2 separate regions of the Homo sapiens genome follow, and region 1 is linked to region 2. Evidence: promoter capture Hi-C in 16 types of primary human blood cells and fetal thymus (Javierre and others, 2016). All regions are on one chromosome and are shown on one strand. The core of a region is centred on a gene start or on the middle of the fragment in contact, and the rest is flanking DNA. Distances in the headings are between cores, read along the strand shown. Region 1 overlaps BRWD1 (bromodomain and WD repeat domain containing 1). Region 2 holds the start of LCA5L (lebercilin LCA5 like).

Region 1 (3,714 bases), core at 532-3,031, 210 kb before region 2:
CATATTTTGGTAGCTTTTCATATGGTTATTTGTCATCTGTTTATCTTCTTTGGTGAGGTGTCTGTTAGATCTTCTGCCCATTTTTAAATTAGGCTGCCTTCTTATTGCTTGGTTTTAAGAGTTCTTTGTATATTGTGAATATAAGTCATTTATCAGATATAAGTTTTACTAATATTTTATCCTGGTTTGTGGCTTATCTTTTCATTCTTTTAATAGTGTCTTTCCCAAAGCAGTTTTCATTTCAGTGTAGTCCAAATTTTTTATATTTTTTCTTTCATGATTGTGCTTTTGATATTGTATCTAAAAAGGTCAATGCCACACTCATGGACACATAGATTTTGCCCTTTGTTATCTTCTAGAAGTTTTATGGTTTTTTTGTTTTACATTTACATTAAGCTTATGATTCATTTTGAGTTAATTTTTGTGAAAGACTGGTGTCTAGGATTTATTTTGTATGTGAATGTCCAGTTATTCTACCACTGGCTGAAAATGATAAATTTGTCCACCAAGTTCTCTTTGCTCCTTTGCCAAAGATCGTTTGAATATATTTGTGTCAGTCTGTTTCTGGGCTCTTTATGTTGTTCCATTGATCTGTTCTTTCACCAGCATCACTGTCTTGAAAACTGCAGATTTACAGTAAGTCTTAATGCCAAGTAGAGTGTCAGTCTTTCAGTTTTATTCTTCTTCAGTGTTGTGCTGGCTATACTGGATCTTCTTCCTCTCTATATAAACTCGAAAAATCAGTTTGTCAGTAAAATTAATTTGCTGGGATTTTGTTTGGGATTGTGAATCTACAGATGATGCTGGAAAGAATTTTTTAACAAGGGTGTGGATCAGCAGGAACTCTCATTCATTACTGATAGGAATGCAAAATGGTACAGCTACTTTGGAAGACAGTTTAGCAGTTTCTTATAAAACTAAACATAATAAGATCCAGCAATCACACTTGATGTTTACCCAAATGAGGTGAAAAATTATGTCCGCACAAAAACCTACACCCAGATGTTTATACCAACTTTATAATGGCCAAATCTTGGAAGCAACCAACACATCCTTCAGTAGGTAAACTGATAAAACTATGGTATATCCAGACAATGAAATATTATTCTGTGCTAAAAAAAACAAACAAACAAACAAAAAAATCAAGCCATGAGAAGGCATGTAGGAAATGTAAATGCATATTAATAAATGAACGAAGCCAATCTGCAAAGGCTACTAGCTATATGATTCCAATTACATGGCATTCTACAAAGATAAAACTATGAAGACAAAAAATCAGTGATTGTCAGGGGCTGTTGGGAAGAGAAAGATGAACAGATGGAGCACAGAGGATTTTTAGGGCAGTAAAATCATTCTGTGTGATATTATAATGGTGGATACATGTCATTATAAATTTGTTAAAAAATTAACTGGGCATGGTAGCACATGCCTGTAGTCCTAGCTACTCAAGAGTCAGAAGCTGGGAAATCACTTGAGCCTAGGAGTTCGAGGTTGCAGTGAGCTATGATTGCACCACTGCACTCCAGCCTGGGCCATAGGGCAAGACCCTGTCCCTAAGAAAAAGAAAAAATCAAATAAATATATCCCCAAATGACACTTCTAGCAGTACAAAAATACGTATACAAAATATTATTCACTGTAGCATTATTTATAATGTAAACATTGGAAACAACCTAACTGCCCATAACCAGGAGAACGATTCAATAAACTGTTTCAATCATGCCATAAAGTACTACATAACTCTTAAAACAAATAAGGATCATATGGAGTGATCTCAAAGATATTTTAAGTGAAAAATGTCAAGTGTGGGACTATCTGTAGTATGCTGTATTTTGTATAAGAAGGATAAATAACTTTTGAAATATTTGTACTAAATACAATTTGGTTAACGACAAAAAAAGAACAGTAAGTAAATAACTAAACTCTACATACTAGGGTTTTTACCACAGGGTAAGTAAATCTTTTTTTTTTTGTTTTTTGAGACAGAGTTTCACTCTGTCACCCAGGCTGGAGGGCAGTGGCACTGTCTCGGCTCACTGCAACCTCCACTTCGTGGGTTCAAACGATTCTCCTGTCTCAGCCTCCCAAGTAGCTGGGATTACAGGCACCCGCCACCACGCCCAGCTAATTTTTTTTTTTTTTTGTATTTTTTGTAGAGACAGCCTTCAGCCACCCAGCCTAGTAAATCTTAAACTACTTTCTGTGTATGTAGAATTAAACAAATAAGTTTATGATAAATAACAGGGCTGGGCATGGTGGCTCACGCCTGTAATCCCAGCATTTTGGGAGACCAAGTCGGGCAGATCACTTGAGGTCAGGAGTTCAAGACCAGCATGGCCAACATGGTGAAACCCTGTCTCTACCAAAAACATAAAAAAATTAGCCGGGTGTGGTGATGCATGCCTGTAATCCCTGCTACTTGGGAGGCTGAGGCAGGAGAATCGCTTGAACCCAGGAGGTGAAGGTAGCAGTGAGCCAAGACTGTGCCACTGCACTCCAGCCTGGGCAACAGAGCAAGATTCCATCTCCAAAGTAAAAAAAAAAAAAAAAAAAAAAAAAAAAAAAAAAAAAAAAAAGATTTAAAAATCTAAATAAATAACAGGAGCCAGGTTTCTCTGTACAGAAGGGAAGTACAAACGGGTATCATTAAAATCAGAATAATGTGAAGTCGTGCATAACAATGACAGATATACAGACAAAAAAATACATGTGTCTGCATATAATATGTATACACAGGCATACTTTTTATCGTGCTTTACTTTATTGTGCTTCACAGTTGTGTTTTTTACAAATTGAAGTTTTGTGACAACCCTGAACCCAGTAAATTTATTGGTGCCATTTTTAAACAGCATGAGCTCATTCTTGTCTCTATGTCACATTTTAGTAATTACCATATTTCAAACTTTTTCATTTTTATTGTATCTGTTACTGTGATTTGTGATTAATGATCTTTGATGTTACTATTCTAATTGTTTTGGGGGCACTAGGAACAATACTCATATAAGATAGCACACTTAATGAATACCATGTGTGTTCTGACTGCTCCAGTCTATTCCCTGAGATACAATATTGCAATTAGACCTACTAATAACCATACAATAGCTTCTAAGTATTCAAAAATGAAAGAGTCACACATATCTTACTTTAACTCGCAATGTAGAAATGATTAAGCTTAGTAAGGAAAGCATGGTGAAAGCCAACACAGGCTAAAAGCTAGGCCTCTTGCACCAAGTAGCCAAGTTGTGAATGCAAAGGAAAAGTTCTTCCAAGAAATATAAAATGCTATTCCAGTGAACACACAAATGGTAAGAAAGCAAAATAGCCATACGGCTAATATAGAGAAAGTTTTGGTGTCTGGATAGAGGGTCAAACCAGCAATAACATTCCCTTAAGCCAAAGCTTAACCCAGAGCAAGGCCCTAACTCTCTTTAATTCTATGAAGGCTGAGAGGTGACAAAGCTGCAGAAGAAAAGATGGAAACTTGCAGAGGTTGGTTCATGAGGTTTAGGGAAAGAAGGCATGTCCATAACATAAAAGTGTAAGGTGAAGCAGCAAGTGCTTTAATGGAGAACCTGCAGCAAGTGATCCAGAAGATCTAGCTAAGATAATCAAGGAAAGTGGCTACAATAACAGATTTTAAATGCAGATGAAATAAATAGCCTTCTATTGGAAGAGGATGACATCTAAGACTTTCACAGCTAGAGGGACTTATGG
Region 2 (3,740 bases), core at 109-2,608:
GGTTTAAAAGTTGCAATTTGCAAAATACATACTGAAAATACTGCACTTTTACCTATGGAAGTTGTAATTTATATAAGGAAATTGTAATTTATATAATCCTTTAAAAAACTTACTCATACGAAATAACAGAGAACGGGGAAATACCATTAAGACTGTCATGCTCAAGTGGGGGAGGGGCAGACTCAGGGAAACCAATTAGGAAGCAAGTAAAATAATCCACGCACCAGATGATGGGGGCCTGGACCAAGGTGGTGACAGTGGCGGTTGAGAGAAATGGTAGAATTGTGAATCTATTCTGGGTGCATTTTGAAGGCAGTGCTGACAGACTGAAGGTGAGGAAGAGAAAAACAGGACTCAAACAGGATGCAAGACTCGGGCAACTGGAGGATGGAATTTCCAGCAACTATGATGGATTAAGATTGTGGGAGGACAGGCTTGGCTTGGGGAATTATTGAGCGCTATCTTGGACGAGCTGTGTTTGAGATGCCGTAGACATCCAAGTAGGGATGTGGCAGGCAGCTAAATGCAGGGATCTGGTGTTCAGGGGAGGGGCGAGGGCTGGGAATGCACACTTGGGGCTCACTGGAATTCAGATAGGCTCTGAGTACAGGCGACTGGATGAGTTCATCTAGGGATTGAGTGTAGACAGAAAAAAGGCTCAAGCTCACATTCAGCCGTGAAAACTGGTCTCTGAAAAAAGTTAACCGTTGGCTTAAGTGTGGCAACGAAACGTTAACACGCTGAGGGGAGGGTGTGGATAAAGAGCCCCGAGGCTGGGTGAGTGGGGGACAAACACAGACAGAGAAGACATTTCAAAAGATTTAGATTCCTACGAGATAGGGAGATGCCAGCGCTAAGGTTAGAAAGAAAAACTAATCCAAAGCAAAACAGCAAGTAAGCAGAGGCAAAATCGGAGGTCAGATAGAAGATTCAGATAGAAAAACCCCAAAGTTCCCTCGGTGGGGCGGCGGTGAGATCGGCCTCCGCCCCCTCGCCAGACCCAGGCGCGGCCCCGGGAGCGCTAGGTCACCTCGGCCCAGGCCGTCCCCCTGCCCAGCGGGCCTGAGAGTACGTGTGTCGCCGGGGCGCCCGGTCACTGCCGAGCCGGGGTAGCTGTTCCTTGGCAAACTGTGCCGCGAGGAGGAAACGGCGGGGCGCCAGCGAGGCAGGCAGGGGCGAGGACTGAGTGACCGGCGATACTGGAAGCCCAGAAAGAGCGTAGCAGGAGGGTCCGGAAGGGCCCAGAGCTGGGGCTGTAACAGGGTAACCGGCTGAGGGGGACGACGGCAGCAGCGGGGCCGTTACCTGCTCCGCGCTGTTCCCACGACTGCGCCAACGCCGCAGCGCCGGCGCGTCCCCATGGAAACCCGCGCGCGGGGCCTCCTGGGAAGCGCCGGCCTGCGGGGGCTGGGCGCGCGCATGCGCACTCGGGCAGCAGGAGCCGCGGCGGGGAGGGGCGTCTTGGGCCTGGAGGTCAGTGTGGCCTCGCGTTTGTCTTCGGTGACGGGAAGTGAGTTTCTTGTGTAGACGTCTGTAAACGATCCTCCTGCCGTCCCTGTTCGGCGCCCGGGACCCTGCCTTCCCGCGTGGCCGCACCGAGACGAGGGAGCCTGTCACGCGCTCTGGCGCTCTCCTGACCTCTTAAGGCTCTGTCAGTCTTAGGTAACTTGAGTCAGTAGGTGGGTGTAGACGCCTGGTCAATTCCTGGGAAGCACAGTTCCCCTATTAACCCCTTGTCATAAAGACGATTTTTTTTTTTTTTTTGTAAAACAAAATCTGATGACAAAACAATGCATGTTTGGCATAGAGAATTTAGAAATGTACAGGCAAGTCCAAAGCAAAAGTCAAAATCACCTAGATGATGGAGTTATAGATGTTTTTTAATGACAGCATAGGAATTTGGCATAATTTAGGAAGACTTACATTGTTTCCTTTTATTTATTTACTTTTTTTCCTGCATCAAAGCCATGTTGAATATCCTTGCAGATGAATCTTTGAGGTCACCCCTGACTGTTTCCTTAGGATAAATTCCTACAAGCGAGGTTGCAGGGCCAAAGCATATGCTCACTTTGAGGCTTTCTAAAGGTAGAGGGAAACTGCCTTCCAGTAAGTGTCCCGATACTTGGCCCGCATTGGAAATTCTCTTTTTTCTTAAAATTTTTTTGCCCATTTTATTGTCAAAAATTGGCATCTTTAATTGTATTCACTTCCTTTTTAGTAGGAAGAATAGACTTTTTCCCATATCTTGAGTGCCATTTGTCCTTATTGTGTGATTTGCATTTTCCTGTCTTTTGTCCATTTTAAAACTTGACATTCATCTTTGTAAAAATGGGTTTTGTAAGGACTTTTGATGCTTGAAAACTTGGCTTGTGATATACGTTGCAAATATTTCCTCAATTTGTCAGTTACCTTTAATTTTGTTTACAGTGTATTTTGGTATTTGTGTAGAGTCAAGCTTATTACATTTCTCTATAGTTTCTGCATTTGGTTTTTATATAAAAGGAGAAACGGGTGTTTTTTTTCAAATTGACTTTAATCCTACTTTGGTAGAAGTGGGTTAGGACAAGCTTTCTCTCCATATCACCATTTCTTCCTCTAGAAATGCATGACCCACCCTGAGTTTTGGTGGGCCATGCATTTCTAGAACTCCTTAGGTAGGGAATTATCCGTATAAGATGGGTGCCGGTTGTTTTTGCTGGTGGTGGTGGGCGGGGCAACATCTCCAGGTAGGCAAACATTAGACAAATGTCACTCTAGACTTGACATTATGGAAAGATGGGCTGATGCTTGGTGGGTGGTGGTGGCCCCATGACAGTAACGAGAGCGGAGTTTTGCCATTGCGGGAGCATCCAACCCTGGAGCTCATGACTGGAGGAATTGAAAGGTAGAGTTTCCTGAGAATGGTTTCCTCCTCTTTTCTACCAGCTTTTCCCAGTCTGTAGACATGATAAGTCACTGCAAATCTGCCCTTGAATCTTTCTTTGCTTTCGCTTTTGCTTTTTTTTTTTTTTTTTTTTGAGACGTATCACTCTATCGCTCAGGCTGGAATGCAGTGGCGCCATCCCAGCTCACCACAACCTCCGCTTCCTGGGTTCAGGTGATTCTCCTGCATCAGCCTCCTGAGTAGCTGGGATTACAGGTGTGAGTCACAACACCCGGCTAATTCTTTTTGTATTTTTAGTAGAGATGGGGTTTTGCGATGTTGGCTAGGCTGGCCTTGAACTCCTGACCTCAAGTGATCTGCCCGCCTCGGCCTCCCAAAATGTTGGGATTTCAGGCATAAGCCACCGTGCCTGGCCTTTGCTTTTGCTTTCGAAGGGGTGTTCTTTTCTGTGTACACAATGGAAGGAGAAGAGCCATGGCCTTTCACTATTCTGGGGCCATCTCCATCATGCCACATAAAAAGCATAGCCTTTATTTCTCTATATTAGGTTCCTAGGTTCCTAGGGATGTCATAACAGACTACCACGAACTTAGGGGCTTAGAACAATAGAACTTTATCTTCTCACATTTCTGGAGGTCAGAAGTATGAAACCAAGTTGTCTGAAAGTCCATGTTTCCTCTGAAGGCTCTTAGGGAGAATTTTTTGAGTCTTCCAGCTTATGGGGACTCCTGCTATTCCTTGGCTTGTGGCAGCACCACTCCAATTTCTGCTTCCATCTTCACAGGGTGTTCTTCTCTGTGTCTCCCTGTCTTGTCTTCTTATAAGGACAACCAGTCATTGGACTTAGGGCCCACCC

Evidence for each region. Contacts are between HindIII fragments. The CHiCAGO score rates a contact against its expected background, and 5 or more counts as called.
Region 1: a fragment that was not itself captured here is called in contact with the fragment with the promoter of LCA5L in region 2 in 1 of 17 cell types (naive CD8 T cells); the score reaches 5.0 in naive CD8 T cells.

What each region holds. Positions count from the first base shown.
Region 1 is chr21:39,238,940-39,242,653 of GRCh38, forward strand. The region is part of intron 21 of BRWD1 (bromodomain and WD repeat domain containing 1); the gene reads right to left. Among named protein-coding and RNA genes, the nearest start is that of PSMG1, 57 kb to the left of the region's middle. The HindIII fragment of the contact is 2,775 bases long and covers 395-3,169 here.
Region 2 is chr21:39,444,420-39,448,159 of GRCh38, forward strand. LCA5L (lebercilin LCA5 like) reads right to left here and starts at 1,359. Exons shown (of 11, transcript NM_152505.4): 1 at 1,306-1,359. All of the region lies in intron 8 of GET1-SH3BGR (GET1-SH3BGR readthrough), which reads left to right. It overlaps MIR6508 (microRNA 6508), which reads left to right and starts at 2,591; the gene lies at 2,591-2,650. It also overlaps a transcript of SH3BGR not described here. RefSeq lists a silencer at 1,270-1,529. The HindIII fragment of the contact is 3,319 bases long and covers 1-2,453 here.